Regions from separate parts of the Homo sapiens genome. Here region 2 is linked to region 1. The links are contacts of gene promoters, found by promoter capture Hi-C in human tissues and cell types (Jung and others, 2019). All regions are on one chromosome and are shown on one strand. Each heading gives the region's core, a stretch centred on a gene start or on the middle of the fragment in contact. The rest is flanking DNA. Distances are from core to core; before and after follow the strand shown. Region 1 holds the start of MED16 (mediator complex subunit 16). Region 2 overlaps TPGS1 (tubulin polyglutamylase complex subunit 1).

Region 1 (6,963 bases), core at 3,766-6,265:
CTGTGTTAGCCAGGATGGTCTCAACCTGACCTCGTGATCCGCTTGCCTCAGCCTCCCAAAGTGCTGGCATTACAGGCTTAAGCCACCGCGCCCAGCCCTAGAGACAGGGTTTCACCATGTTGGTCAGGCTGGTCTCGACCTCCTGACCTCAGATGATCCTCCTGCCTTGGCCTCCCAGAGTGCTGGGATTACAGGCATGAGCCACTGCGCCTGGCCAGGTCATTCATTTTTCTGCAGTGAGGGGGAGATGGGGAAGGGGAGGCCGGTGGGAGCTGGACCACTCAGGACCTGGGTGCCTCAGAGCCACCTCTGCAGGGCAGGGAGCCTGAGGGGAGGCCGGACACTCCGCCAGGCAGGCGTGTGAGTGGCCATGCGGCCTCAGGCCCAGTGCGTTTCAGGGTCCCCATCCGCACAGTGGAATGAGTGCCAGCGGGGAGTGAGATGGGCCCGAGGAGAGTGCTCCTGTAGGGAGCCTTAGGTATTCTTGTGAGCCAGGCTCCCGGACCTGCGGGCTTAGGGCCAGCCAGGCCGCAGTGACCAGCACACACCAGCTGGCGGTGACCTCCCTGGGAAGAAGCGAGGGTGGTGCAGGTCCGAGGCACCTCTACCTGCCGCGGCTCCCAAATTCCTCCCGTTCTTGCCCCGCTGGTCCCGTCTGCAGGTGCTGACCTGGAGGGGAAGCGGCAGATGAAGGTCAGTAATCGGCACCTGGATTTCCTGCCGCCGGGGCTGCTCCTGTCCGCCTACCTGGAGCAGCACAGCTGATGGCGGCCCCGCGGAGACCCCGCTGCCACCTCGCCCAGCCATCAAGCCCTCCGATACCTTCGGCTAAAATATCTTTCATATTTTTAGAATTTGTCCTCGGAAACCTTTTTCGCTTGGGGTGGTCTCTCTCACTCTGCCCCCTCCTCACGCAGCTCTTGGCAGTCAACAGACGCTGGCGGCTGGGGCTGCCCATGCCATCCCAGCTCCAAGCTTCCCACTCCGGGACTTGTGTTTGGGTGGGGAGACCTGACCTGGGCATGTTCCTGTTTCTTCATCGTTGAGCTTTTCTGGCCCGGTCTGAAGCTCAAGTGAGGAGGGGGAGGCTGGGTTTTTATCACTTTTAATGAATTTGGTGTGATTTGTTGTAGATTTTTAAATTTCCCTTTTGGAGAGAAAAACCAAAAAAACTCGCCCCACTGGTAAAACATGGGTCTTGGTCCCAGCCCCTGCTCAGCCCCTCCCAGTTTTTAGCTTGAATGAGGGTGGGGTCTCTGGGACCCTGCCCCTCATGCCAGAAGCATCTTGTGTTGTATATGTGTGCGCGCGTGTGCCCTGAGACCCAGGACAGAAGCCACGGTCCTAAGAGCCGGTTTTATCCTCGTCATTCTGCGTGTCCTCCCCCACGCCACCTGTGTCGGGGCTCAGGGTCTCCTGCTTTATATGAGCCCCCTTCCTTTCCTCCCCTCCTTTATGCTGGGGGTCCAGGACTTCCAGCCAGAAGCCTCTGCCCTTGCACTACCTTGTCTGTCACCCCATCCCGTGTCCCCTCGTCCCCCAGCCTGACTCCTGCCTGATAGCTCCTGTGTCCCCATGCTGGTCCTCCTGGCCCAGGCTGCAGGAGCCAGGCTGGGGGGCCTCCGCACCCCCTTGCTGCGTGTGGGTAATTGTGTTTTGGGGGAAAGTGGGGAATTTAATAAATTTCTGGTGCTCTGGCCTCGGGCTATGTGTGTTTTTCTTCGGGGCAGGGCCGGGGGCTTAGTAGGTCCTGGCCACCAAGGGCTGCAGGTGCCCCCCTGGCTCCTCTGCCCTTGGTTGCCTGGATTCAAACCCTGGCTCTGCCACATGCCTGCCGTGTGACCTTGGGTGAGGAGCTTGTAGGAGTGCCTTGGGGCCCCTGTAGACCTTGAGTGAGTGGCTTGTACGAGTGCCTTGGGGCCCCTGTAATGGAGGGTCTCACACAGGGGGCTTGAAACGACAGAAGGCCAGTGCAGTAGCTCATGCCTGTGATCCCAGCACCTTGGGAGGCCAAGGCAGGAGGATCGCTTGAGCCCAGGAGTTTGAAACCAACCAGGGCAACATAGCAAGACCTTGTCTCTACAAAACATGAGAGAAATTAGCAGGGTTGGCTGGGCATGGTGGCTGCTCACACCTGTAATCCCAGCACTTTGGGGATGCCAAAGCGGGTGGATCACAAGGTCAGGAGTTCAAGACCAGCCTGACCAACATGGAGAAACCCCATCTCTACTAAAAATACAAAATTAACCGAGTGTGGTGGTGCATGCCTGTAATGCCAGCTACTCAGGAGGCTGAGGCAGGAGAATTGCTTGAACCCAGGTGGTAGAGGCTGCAGTGAGCTGAGATCGCACCTTTGCACTCCAGCCTGGGCAACAAGAGCAAAACTCTGTCACACACACAAAAATTAGCAGGGTGTGGTGTGCGCCTGTAGTCCCAGCTACTTGGGAGGCTGAGGTGGGAGGATCACTTGAGCCTGCAGTGAGCTGAGACCGTGCCACTGCACTTCAGCCTGGGTATGGAGGAAGACCCTAGGTCAAAGAGAAGCAAAAGGGAAATCTATCCTCTCACAATGCTGGAGGTAGAAGAATGAGGTCATGGTGTCTGCAGGGCAGTGCTCCCTCCAGCGTCTCTAGGGGAGGAGCCTTCCTGCCTTTCCCGGTTTCTGGGGACTTCGTGTGTCCATGGCTTGTGGCCACATTGCTGTGGTCTCATCTCCAAGTGGCCGTTTTCCCTGTGTGTTATGTCTTGTCTTGACATCGTCCTCTCCTCACGTGTCTGTGCCCAAATATCCATCTCTATGATGCCCGTCATTAGGTTAGGCCCATGCTAATCACCTCCTTTTAACCTGATTACCTCTGCAAAGACCCTGTTTCTAAATAAGGTCACATTCTGAGGTAGTGGGAGTTAGGAATTCAACCTCTCTTTTTTTTTTTTTTTTTTTTTTAGACAGGGTCTGGCTCTGTTGCCCTGGCTGGAGTGCAGAGGTACAATCCCAGCTCACTGCAGCCTTGACCTCCCAGACTGAAGTGATCCTCCCACTTTTGCCTCCTGAGTAACTGGGCCTACAGGTGTGCATCACCCCACCCAGCTATTTTATTTATTTATTTATTTATTTTGAGACAGAGTCTTGCTCTGTCCCCCAGGCTGGAGTGCAGTGGCGCGATCTCAGCTCACTGCAACCTCCACCTCTTGGGTTCAAGTGATTCTCCTGCCTCAACCTCTAGAGTAGCTAGGACTACAGGCATGTGTCACCATGCCCAGCTAATATTTTTGTATTTTTAGTAGAGATGTGGTTTCAACATGTTGGCCAGGCTAGTCTCGAACTCCTGTTCTCAGGTGATCTGCGTGCCTCAGCCTCCCAAAGTTCAGGGATTACAGGCCTGAACCACCTTGCCCAGCGCCCCTCCCTCCCCAACCCTGCTAATTTTTAATTTTTTTTTGTAGAGACGGGGTCTGGCTATGTTTCCCAGGCTGGTCTCAAACTCAAGCTGTCCTCAGACCTTGGCCTCCCAAAGTACTGGGATTACAGGTGTGTGCCACCACACCCGGGCCGCTAAGAACGTTAAATCCCTACCTGCTGCCTGGGAATGGGGATTTTCTGTAAGGTCACTGCGTGGCCCTCTTGGAGAACTGAACCCTGATCCAGAAAAAACACTCTGATATTTGGGCCATTGTTAACCTGTAATTTTAGAACAGTTTTATATTTGCAGAATTCTTGCAAAAATCATGCAGTGAGGCCGCGGTGGCTCACGCCTATAATCCCAGCACTTTGGGAGGCCGGGGTGGAAGGAGGGCTTGAGGCCTGGAGTTTGAAATCAGCCTGGGCAACATAGTGAGACCCCATCGCTATTAAAATTTTGAAAAAACAGGCTGGGCGCGGTGGCTCACGCCTGTAATCCCAGCACTTTGGGAGGCTGAGGCAGGCAGATCACCAGGTCAAGAGACTGAGACCATCCTGGCCAACATGGTGAAACTCCGTCTCTACTAAAAATACAAGAATTTGTTGGGCATGGTGGTGCGCGCCTGTAGTCCCAGCTACTCGGGAGGCTGAGGCAGGAGAATCGCTTGAGCCTGGAAGGCGGAGGTTGCAGTGAGCTGAGATCGCGCTACTGCACTCCAGCCTGGGCCACAGAGCGAGACCCTGTCTCAAAAAAAATAAAAATAAAAATAGAAGAGCACCACATCCATTGCATTAAACTGGCTTTTGGAGGAGGAGGTGGGAATAGGGTTGGAAGTAGGAATACTCAACGGGGTCGGTGACTTCGCTTACAGTTTCCCCACTCTTGGACATTAGAAAATGGAAGAAAGGCCGGGCGCGGTGGCTCACACCTGTAATCCCAGTACTCTGGGAGGCCGAGGCGGGCGGATCAGGAGGTCAGTAGATAGAGACCACCCTGGCCAACATGGCGAAACCCCGTCTCTACCAAAATACAAAAATTAGCCGGGCGTGGTGGCGCATGTTTATAATCCCAGCTACTCGGGAGGCTGAGGCAGGAGAATCGCTTCAACCCGGGAGGCGGAGGTTGCAACAAGCTAAGATCGCGCCATTGCATTCCAGCCTGGGCAACAGAGCAAGATTCCGTTTCTGGGAGGGAAAATGGAAAAAAAAAAAAAAATATGGAACGCTTCACGAATTTGCGTGTCATCCTTGCGCAGGGGCCATGCTAATCTTCTCTGTATCGTTCCAATTTTAGTATATGTGCTGCCGAAGCGAGCACGAATATTGAGTTCCACCACCAGCTATTTAAAGCCCCTGGAACAAATGTCTGTACACATAGGCCGACTTCTCTTAAATGACCTAGAGATTTAACCTCTATTTATATTAGCCCAATGTGTAATGCAACTAACGTAGTTATTGACTGGAGTTGAGAAAGTGCTCGTTGTTCTACCAAATATAGCTACGGTGGCTGCTGGGAATTACTGGAAATGGTCGTATGCAAATAGCCCCGGAGGCGGGGCAGAGCCTGAGCCGCACCGCCCTCCCAGAAGTCTTTGGGAGGCGGCCCCACGCCTCAGGCGACTGGTTGTTACCGAGGAAGATGGCGGCGCCAGACCCGAGGCGCTAGGGAAGATCGCACCGCGGACGCCCGCTGAGCTTGGCGCACGGGCCGACCAGGTGAGTGCGGGGCTGCGGGGGCCCGGCGAGGGCGGACGGACCCCTGACCGTGTCCACGGACCCGAGGGAACGCGGCGCAGCCGTGGCGGGGCCTGCGGGGTCGGGGGCGTGGCCGGGAGCAAAGGCTGCTGGGTAGGCGGCCTGGGGCGCGGGGCGCGGGGCGCGGGGCGCGGGGCGCGGGGCGCGGGGCGCGGGGCGCGGGGCTCGGGGCTCAGGGTTTGCGGCGGAAACCTGGGGGAGGCCTGAGGCCCGCGGGGCTGGGTTCGGGGCGGGGCCTAAGGAGAGTTTGGGGCGAGGCTGAAGGCGCTTGGTGGGACTTCGGGGGCGGGGCCTGGAGTGGGTTTGGGGTCGCCGGGGTGGAGCCTGGGGACTGGGGGGCTGTAGAGGCAGGGCCTGGAGACTGCGGGGTTATCGGTGCGGGGCCTGGAGAGGGAATAGGGTCCCTAGGGTGGAGACTGGGGACTGCGGAGTTATAGGGGTCTGGAGAGGGTAGGGGGTCCCTGGGATGGACCCTGGAGATTGGGGGTTATAGGGGCGGGGCCTGAAGAGGCTATGGGGTCCCTGGGATGAAGCCTCGTATTTGGGGGCAATAGGGGAAGGGCCTGGAGAGTACGTGGGGTCCCCGGGGTGGAGTCTGGGGACTGGGGAGTTTTAGGGGTTGGGCCTGGAGAGCTAAGGGCGTTGGAGGCTGGACCTGGAGAGTACATGGGACCCCTACGGTGAAGCCTGAGAATTTAGGGTGAGGCCGTGGGCTCAAGGGGTGAAATGAAGTGTGGGAAGCAAAGGGGGTCAGGGGTGGGGCTGAAAGACTTTTAGAGGCTTGTGGCGGAGCCTTGGGGGTCTGGGGCAGGCCCTGAAGAAGTAGGGAGCCGGGGTTAGGGTTTGAGGAGAACCTGGTTGCGGGTGATTCCAGGCTCCCTGGGCTTTTGCCTTTGCGAAGCGAAACAGCCCGTCTGGATGCCAGGCGCTTAGAAAGCCTCGAGGAGGTGCCCCCTCTGTTCCCTGTGACACTCAGCCCCCGCCTCGGCCACAGGTGTTCCCCAACACACTCAGCCCCGCCTCGGCCACAGGTGTTCCCCGTCACACTCAGCCCCGCCTCGGCCACAGGTGTTCCCCGTCACACTCAGCCCCCGGCTCGGCCACAGGTGTTCCCCATCACACTCAGCCCCGCCTCGGCCACAGGTGTTCCCCGTCACACTCAGCCCCCGCCTCGGCCACAGGTGTTCCCCGTCACACTCAGCCCCGCCTCGGCCACAGGTGTTCCCCGTCACACTCAGCCCCGCCTCGGCCACAGGTGTTCCCCGTCACACTCAGCCCCCGCCTCGGCCACAGGTGTTCCCTGTCAGTCAGCCCCGCCTCGGCCACAGGTGTTCCCCGTCACACTCAGCCCCGCCTCGGCCACAGGTGTTCCCCGTCACACTCAGCCCCCGCCTCGGCCACAGGTGTTCCCTGTCACTCAGCCCCGCCTCGGCCACAGGTGTTCCCTGTCACTCAGCCCCGCCTCGGCTACAGGGAGCCGCCCCACCGCTTGCCTGTCTGCGGGCTCTTCCTTCGGGAGAGAGCTAGTGTCCACTTGCTGCCCCCATCATCACTCACCTGGGCCAGCGCAGACCCTCCGCTGCGTCTCCCGGCTGTGCCCTTGGCCCCCATGGTCTGTTCCCTAGACAGCCAGAGGGGTCCTGGTGAAACCCAAATAGGTCCCAGCCCTCCCGGGCTCCCACCTTACTGAGAGTAGAAGCCCACAGGCCCAGGACTGGCCCTGACCTCTCCATGTTCCCCCTCGGCCCCAGCCCCAGGCTCTGTCTGGCCTCCGGGCCTTTGCATCGGCTGTTCCCTCTACCACGGGC
Region 2 (6,963 bases), core at 4,153-6,652, 380 kb after region 1:
CAGCTGAGCCCTTGCTGAGGGTGTAACCTCCGCTGCCTGGGCCTGGGAATCAATCACATGAGGCACTTCAGTTCCTGGGAAGTGTTAGGGCTGTTGTCTCACCAATGTCACTACCATCTGCCCAGCTGGCCTCTTCATTTGACATCTGGGGAGACTGAGGCTCAGGGAGGATACCTGGGCCGGGCGGGGCTGGAGGGCCCGGGCCCTGCGTTCCAGAAGAGCCGCCTGCTCTCCGGCTTCAGGCTCCGCAGGGCCCCGTGGGGCGTCCCCCTCCGCTGCTCCCACCAGGCCGGGTCCAGGGGTCCCGGCGTTTCCGGCCTCGAATCCAGCCTCCAGTCGCCGCGGTTCCGGGGCCGTGGGTGACCTGCTGGGGAAAAGCGTCTTCTGCGGGCACCGGGGCTGGGAGGCGGGCGCTCGCATACACACCAGCGTCAGCCTCGCAACACATTTTATTAGCGTGGGGCAGGGGCTCCCGCGGGGGTGGAGGGGCGGCCGCGGCGCTGTGTGGGGACCGGGCGTCCGCTTCCTGGGAGCCCCGGCCTCCTCCGCAGGGCTGGGCGCCTGGTTATGGCAGGGCCTCACCAGGGCGAAGGGAAGGCTCCGCGCGCCCCGCACGCGGGGACCCCCCAGCGCAGATCCCGGATCCGCGCGGCCCACGGGCCTCAGCCCACCGGCTTGACCTTCGCGATGAAGAGCGCGGCGGCCCTCTCCAGAAACTCCTCGCGGGTCATGGGCGCGCTGGGCCGCCGCCCCCCGACGGCGCGGTCCAGCGCCAGCGCCAGGCTGTCGGGCCCCAAGCGCGAGCCGGCCTCCAGGAAGCGCGCGGGCGCGGCGGCGTCGCTGGCCTGCAGCGCGCCCTCCAGGGTGTCCAGCACGGCCTGGCCCACGCGGCGGTCGGCCACGGCGGCGGCCGAGTCCTCCAGCAGCTGGAAGAGCGCGCCGGCGCGCGCCACGAACTCCAGCAGCACGAAGCAGGTGAGTGTGCCCGCGCGGAAGACGCTCAGCGGCACCGCCTCGTGGTCACGGCACTGCACCTTGCGCAGCAGCGGCGCCACCACCTCCTCGGGGGCTTGGCCGTCCCGGCAGATGCGCCTGAGCAGCTCGCTGTAGGTGCGCCCGTCCAGCCCCGGCCTCTTCCTGCGCCCGCCGGCGCTCAGGCACTCGTAGGCCACGCTCACGTTGTTGTTGAAGGCGGCCCTGCGGAGACGGGGACGTTGGGGGCCGGCAGAGACCGCGCGCCCACCCAGCCCCAGCCTCCCCTCCTCGCCAGGCCTATGCCCTAGCCTCCCCGACCCCCCAGCCAGCCCTGGCCTCCCCTCTCCTCCTACCCCCCATCCCCGGCCTCCCCTCCTCCTCACCCTCTATCCCTGAAGCTCCTCTCTTGAGCCCCCGCCTCCCTTCTCCCAGCTAGGGCCTCTCCTCCCCGCAGCATCCCCAGCCCGGGCCTCTCCTCCCCCAAGCATCCCCAGCCCGGGCCTCTCCTCCCCCCAGCATCCCCAGCCCAGGCCTCCCTCCTCCCAGTCCCCTCCCAGCCCAGGCCTCCCTCCCCCAAGCATCCCCAGCCTGGGCCTCTCCTCCCCCAGCATCTCCAGCCCAGGCCTCCTCCTCTCAGCCCCCTCCCAGCCCTGGCCTCTCCTCCCCCCAGTATCCCAAGCCCAGGCCTCCCTCCTCCCAGCCCCTACCCAGCCCGGGCCTCCCTCTTCCCAGCCCCTACTCAACCTGGGCCTCCCCTCCCCACCCCACCAGCACTCCCAGCCTGGGCCTCCCTCCTCCCAGCCCCTACCCAGCCTGGACCTCCCCTCCTCCCAGCTCCCACCCAGCCTGGCCTCCCTCCTCCCAGCCCCTACCCAGCCGGGGCCTCCCTCTTCCCAGCCCCTACTCAACCTGGGCCTCCCCTCCCCACCCCACCAGCACTCCCAGCCTGGGCCTCCCTCCTCCCAGCTCCCACCCAGCCTGGCCTCCTTCCTCCCAGCACCCCCCAGCCCGGGGCTCCCTCCTCCCAGCACCCACCCAGCCAGGCCTTCCTCCTCCCAGCACCCCCTCAGCCTGGGCCTCCCCTCCCCACCAGCACCCCCAGCCTCGGCCTCCTCCCAACCTGGATCTCCCTCCTCCCAGCCTCTACCCAGCCTGGGCCTCCTCCCAACCTGGATCTCCCTCCTCCCAGCCTCTACCCAGCCTGGGCCTCCTCCTCCCAGCCCCCACCCAGCCTGGCCTCCCTCCTCCCAGCACCGCCCAGCCCGGGCCTCCCCTCCCCACCAGCACCCCCAGCCTCGGCCTCCTCCTCCCAACCTGGGTCTCCCTCATCCCCGCCTCCACCCAGCCTGGCCTCCCCCGTCCCAGCCCCTACCCAGCCTCGGCCTCCTCCTCCCAGCACCCCCCAGCCTGGCCTCCCCCCTCCCAGCCCCCACCCAGCCTGGCCTCCGTCCTCCCAGCACCCCCCAGCCTGGGTCTCCCCCCTTCTAGCCCCCACCCAGCCTGGCCTCCCTCCTCCCAGCCCCCACCCATCCTGGCCTCCCCCCTCCCAGCCCCCACCCAGCCTGGCCTCCGTCCTCCCAGCACCCCCCAGCCTGGGCCTCCCCCCTTCCAGCCCCCACCCATCCTGGCCTCCATCCTCCCAGCCCCCACCCAGCCTGGCCAGCCCCCACCCAGCCTGGCCTCCCCCCTCCCAGCCCCCACCCAGCCTGGCCTCCCCCCTCCCAGCCTCCACCCAGCTCAGGCCTCTCCTCCCCGCAGCTCCCATCCAGCCCTGGCTTCCCAGCTCCAACTGGACCGGCCTCAGGGCCTCTGCAAGGGCCGTGACACTGCCTTCCCCCAGATCTCCCTCACCTCCTCCCTGGTCTCCTCCAGGTCTCTCCTCAAATGTCGCCTCCCCTGACCCCTAACTCCTTTCCTCCTGTTTTCTTCCTAGTGGTCATCCTGTCTCACTCGCTGTCCCACATCCCTGTGAGCTTCATGTCTCCCACCAGTGTGAGCACCTGCCCTCCAGGGCCGGAAGTTCGTCTTGGTTATAGCCCTGGTGCCCAGAACACTGCCCTGCCCACAGTAGGTGCTCAGTAAATGTCTTGAATCAACGGCAGGCATCTGTCTGGGGCATCTGGCCCCAGTGAAGAAGGAATTAGTGAAATCAGCTCTAACCTAATAGTAGTAGTCATAGAAATTTTAAAATCCTCTTAAAGTTGCTGCAAAGTGTGACCCCCACCCTTACACTCAAGTTAAAAGAGAATGTTAACAGCCTGTCTTCTCTCTGTAGTCAGTGGACCTTATCTATACTCTCCAACTCCACATTCCTCAGTTTATTACAGGCCCAGCGAGTTCCTGCTTACCTCCCTAGCACGGCTGCAGGGTCACAAAACCGATAAGTTTAGGTTGTAAGACATGTTTTTCTCAAGATGTGAGAAATGTTGGCCAGGCACGGTGGCTCACGCCTGTAATCCCAGCACTTTGGGAGGCCGAGGTGGGAGGATCACAAGGTCAAGAGATTGAGGCCATCCTGGCCAACATGGTGAAACCCCATCTCTACTAAAAATACAAAAATTAGCGGGACGTGGTGGTACACGTCTGTAGTCCCAGCTACTCGGGAGTCTGAGGCAGGAGAATCGCTTGAACCTGGGAGGTGGAGGTTGCGGTGAGCCAAGATGGCGCCACTGCACTCCAGCCTGGGCGACAGAGCGAGACTCCGTCTCAAAAAAAAAAAAAAGAAAAAGAAAAAAGAAATGCTGTAATGCTTAACTGCCTTTGTTTCTCGCCTCTGTAACTTGCTTCCCGCCTCACGTAGTTCCCGCCTTACGATGTTTAAAAATAGGAAAAGCCCTTTGTTCGAGGCTCAGACTTTCTGGATGTATGTCCAGCTGAGCCGGTGATCACCTTGATAAACTCTCCTGAACCTTTTTCGGTCTCTCCACTCTTTGTCCCACAACACCAGGACCCTCTGGTCTCCCTCCCTGCAGCAGCAGCGCCTGTTTACATGTGGCCAAATACTGTGCCCAACATTTAACACAACTGACATTTGTTTTTTTCTTTTCTTTCTTTCTTTCTTCCTTTTTTTTTTTTTTTTGAGACGGAGTCTCGCTCTGTCGCCCGGGCTGGAGTGCAGTGGCGGGATCTCGGCTCACTGCAAGCTCCGCCTCCCGGGTTCACGCCATTCTCCTGCCTCAGCCTCCCAAGTAGCTGGGACTACAGGCGTCCGCCACTATGCCCGGCTAATTTTTTGTATTTTTAGTAGAGACGGGGTTTCACCGTTTTAGCCGGGATGGTCTCGATCTCCTGACCTCGTGATCCACCCGCCTCGGCCTCCCAAAGTGCTGGGATTACAGGCGTGAGCCACCGCGCCCGGCCCTCTTTCTTTTTTTGAGACAGTGTCTCACTCTGTTGTCAGGCTGGAGTGCAGTGGCACAATCTCAGCTCACAGCAACCTCCACCTCCCGGGTTCAAGCGATTCTCCTGCCTCAGCCTCCTGAGCTGCTGGGATTACAGGCGTGTGTTACCACACCCAGCTAATTTTTGTATTTTTAGTAGAGACGGGGTTTCACCATGTCGGCCAGGATGGTCTGGATCTCGAGTGACCTCGTGGTCCGCCCACCTCGGCCTCCCAAAGTGCTGGGATTACAGGTGTGAGCCACTGCGCCCAGTCTGTGCTGAACATTTAACACAGCTGACATTGCATTTTTTCTTTTTTTTTTTTTTTTGAGACAGGGTCTCACTGTGTTGTGCAGGCTGGAGAGCAGTGGTACAATCAGGGCTCACAGCAGCCTCCACCTCCTGGGCTCAAGCGATCCTCCTGCCTCAGCCTCCCAAACTGCTGGGATTACAGGTGACAGTTGCTGCTCGGGGCCAGTGGTGGTATTTCTCTCCCCACAATCCCACAGGCAAGGCCCCACAGTCAGCCTGAGGGTCAAATACGACCTGCTGCCTGCTTTTGTAAATAAAGCTTTATCGGAACATAACCACATCAGTCCGCTGACATGTGGCCTGTGGCAGCTTCCGACCAGAACCGTAGAGCTGAATGTCAGGATGGAGGCTGCCACGCAAAGCTGAAATGTTCACTATCTGGCCCCTTACAGAAGAAGGCTGTCAGCCCTGCTGCCGGCTCTGGGGTGGGTTCGATTCCCTGCCCCAGTGAGGAGCCTGAGGCCTTACTACGTGCCACTCGTGTGCTGGTAGTGTGACACACACTCCCGTGGAGGGCACCAGGGAGTGGCCAGGGAGCACCGTGGCCAGCGTGGGGGCCGCTGCAGGACCCTGGGTGGGCTGCTTAACCCCCTGGCCTCACTCCCCCCATCAGTTCCCGGCCAGGCCTCATGCTAGTGGCCTGTTACTTCCTCTGGGACATATAGGGAAACTGAGGCTCAGGGCAGCCCCATGGTCTGGCCAAGGGTCCCAGAGAGGAAGTGGCCAACCTCAGGGCTTACGCTTTTCCCTTCTGGGAGCTCAGCTTCATGGTGAGGAGGGCAGCCTTCCCTCCGGCATGACCTGGGCACACGACTTCACCTTTCTGTGGGCCACCTGTGGTAGGTGCCGGGGAAGTGCTAAGCCAGCATGCAGTAGGTGCTCAGTAAATGCAGGGTTGGTGTGCAGCAGGTGCTCAGTAATGCAGGGCTGGTACACAGTAGGTGCTCAGTGATGCTGGGCCAGAATGCAATAGGTGCTCAGTAAATGTGGGGCTGGTGTGCAATAGGTACTCAGTAATGCTGGGGCGGTGTGCAGTGGGTGCTCAGTAAATGCTGGGCCAGTAAGCAATAGGTGCTTAGTAAACGTGGGGTCGGTGTGCAGTGGGTGCTCAGTAATACAGGGCCGGTGTAGAGTAGGTGCTCAGTGAATGCAGGGCCAGTACACGGTAGGTACTCAGTAATGCTGGGGCGGTGTGCAGTGGGAGTGAAGTAAATGCTGGGCCAGCATGCAATAGGTGCTCAGTAAATGTAGGGTCAGTGTGCAGTGGGTGCTCAGTAATACAGGGCTGGTGTACAGTAGGTGCTTAGTGAATGCAGGGCTGGTACATAGTAGGTGCTCAGCAAATGTGGGGCCAGTGTGCAGTGGGTGCTCAGTAATGCTGGGTCTGTGTACAGTGGGTGCTCAGTAAATGCTGGGCCAGCATGCAATAGGTGCTCAGTAAATGTGGGGCCGGGGCAGGTTGGTGTGCAGCAGGTGCTCAGTAATGCAGGACTAGTGCACAGTAGGTGCTCAGTAATGCTGGGGTTGTGTGCAGTGGGTGCTCACTAAATGCTGGGCCAGGATGCAATAGGTGCTCAGTAAATGTGGGGCCAGTGTGCAGTAGGTGCTCAGTAAATGTGGGGCTGGTGTGCAGTAGGTACTCAGTAATGCTGGGCTGGTGTGCAGTAGGTACTCAGTAATGCTGGGCTGGTGTGCAGTAGGTACTCAGTAATGCTGGGCTGGTGTGCAGTAGGTACTCAGTAATGCAGGGCCAGTATGCAGTAGGTGCTCAGTAATGCTGGGCTGGTGTGCAGTAGGTGTTCAGTAATGCAGGGCCGGCATGCAGTAGGTGCTCAGTAAATGCTGGGCGGGTGCACAGTAGGTGCTCAGTAATGCTGGGCCGGTGCACGGTGGGTGCCTGGTGAACACGTGCCTCCCTGGTCATCACTGCTGCTCAGTTCAGGGCTTAGGGATGGACGTGCCATCTCAGCGAGCTCGAGGGTCAAAGCTCTGCTATGGAGGAGGAAACTGAGGCCCAGAGGCAGGAGGGCAGCGACCTGCAATTCAACTCTAGGCCCATCTGGCTGTACGCTCCTTTTCCCTCCCAAGTAGTAAAGGCCCCATTTGTTGGCCCTTATAATCCGCTGGGCGCTTTTACCATCCATGAGGTCATCCCCAAAATGCGCTGGGGGCAGTCGCAGTGTCAGCGCGGCGGCCCGAGCTCCCATCACGCCTGACCTCTCCGCATGACCCAGCAGGAGCCGCACCGGGGCCCCTCTCATCAGGATCTGCTGTGAGGCCGGGCAGGCTGCTGCC

Evidence for each region. Contacts are between HindIII fragments. The study calls those that stand out against the background at their distance.
Region 2: a fragment that was not itself captured here is called in contact with the fragment with the promoter of MED16 in region 1 in 1 of the 25 tissues and cell types used here (lymphoblastoid cells).

The regions. Positions count from the first base shown.
Region 1 is chr19:891,239-898,201 of GRCh38, reverse strand. It overlaps MED16 (mediator complex subunit 16), which reads left to right and starts at 5,015. Exons shown (of 16, transcript NM_005481.3): 1 at 5,015-5,116. RNU6-9 (RNA, U6 small nuclear 9) reads right to left here and starts at 4,718; the gene lies at 4,612-4,718. It overlaps R3HDM4 (R3H domain containing 4), which reads left to right. Exons shown (of 8, transcript NM_138774.4): 8 at 662-1,699. The coding sequence ends at 765. RefSeq lists an enhancer at 4,738-4,887 and silencers at 5,028-5,297, 5,348-5,397. The HindIII fragment of the contact is 37,799 bases long and covers 1-6,963 here.
Region 2 is chr19:513,123-520,085 of GRCh38, reverse strand. TPGS1 (tubulin polyglutamylase complex subunit 1) reads right to left here. Exons shown (of 2, transcript NM_033513.3): 2 at 432-1,197. The coding sequence ends at 663. Among named protein-coding and RNA genes, the nearest start is that of MADCAM1-AS1, 8.7 kb to the right of the region's middle. RefSeq lists an enhancer at 722-1,628. The HindIII fragment of the contact is 7,591 bases long and covers 1,607-6,963 here.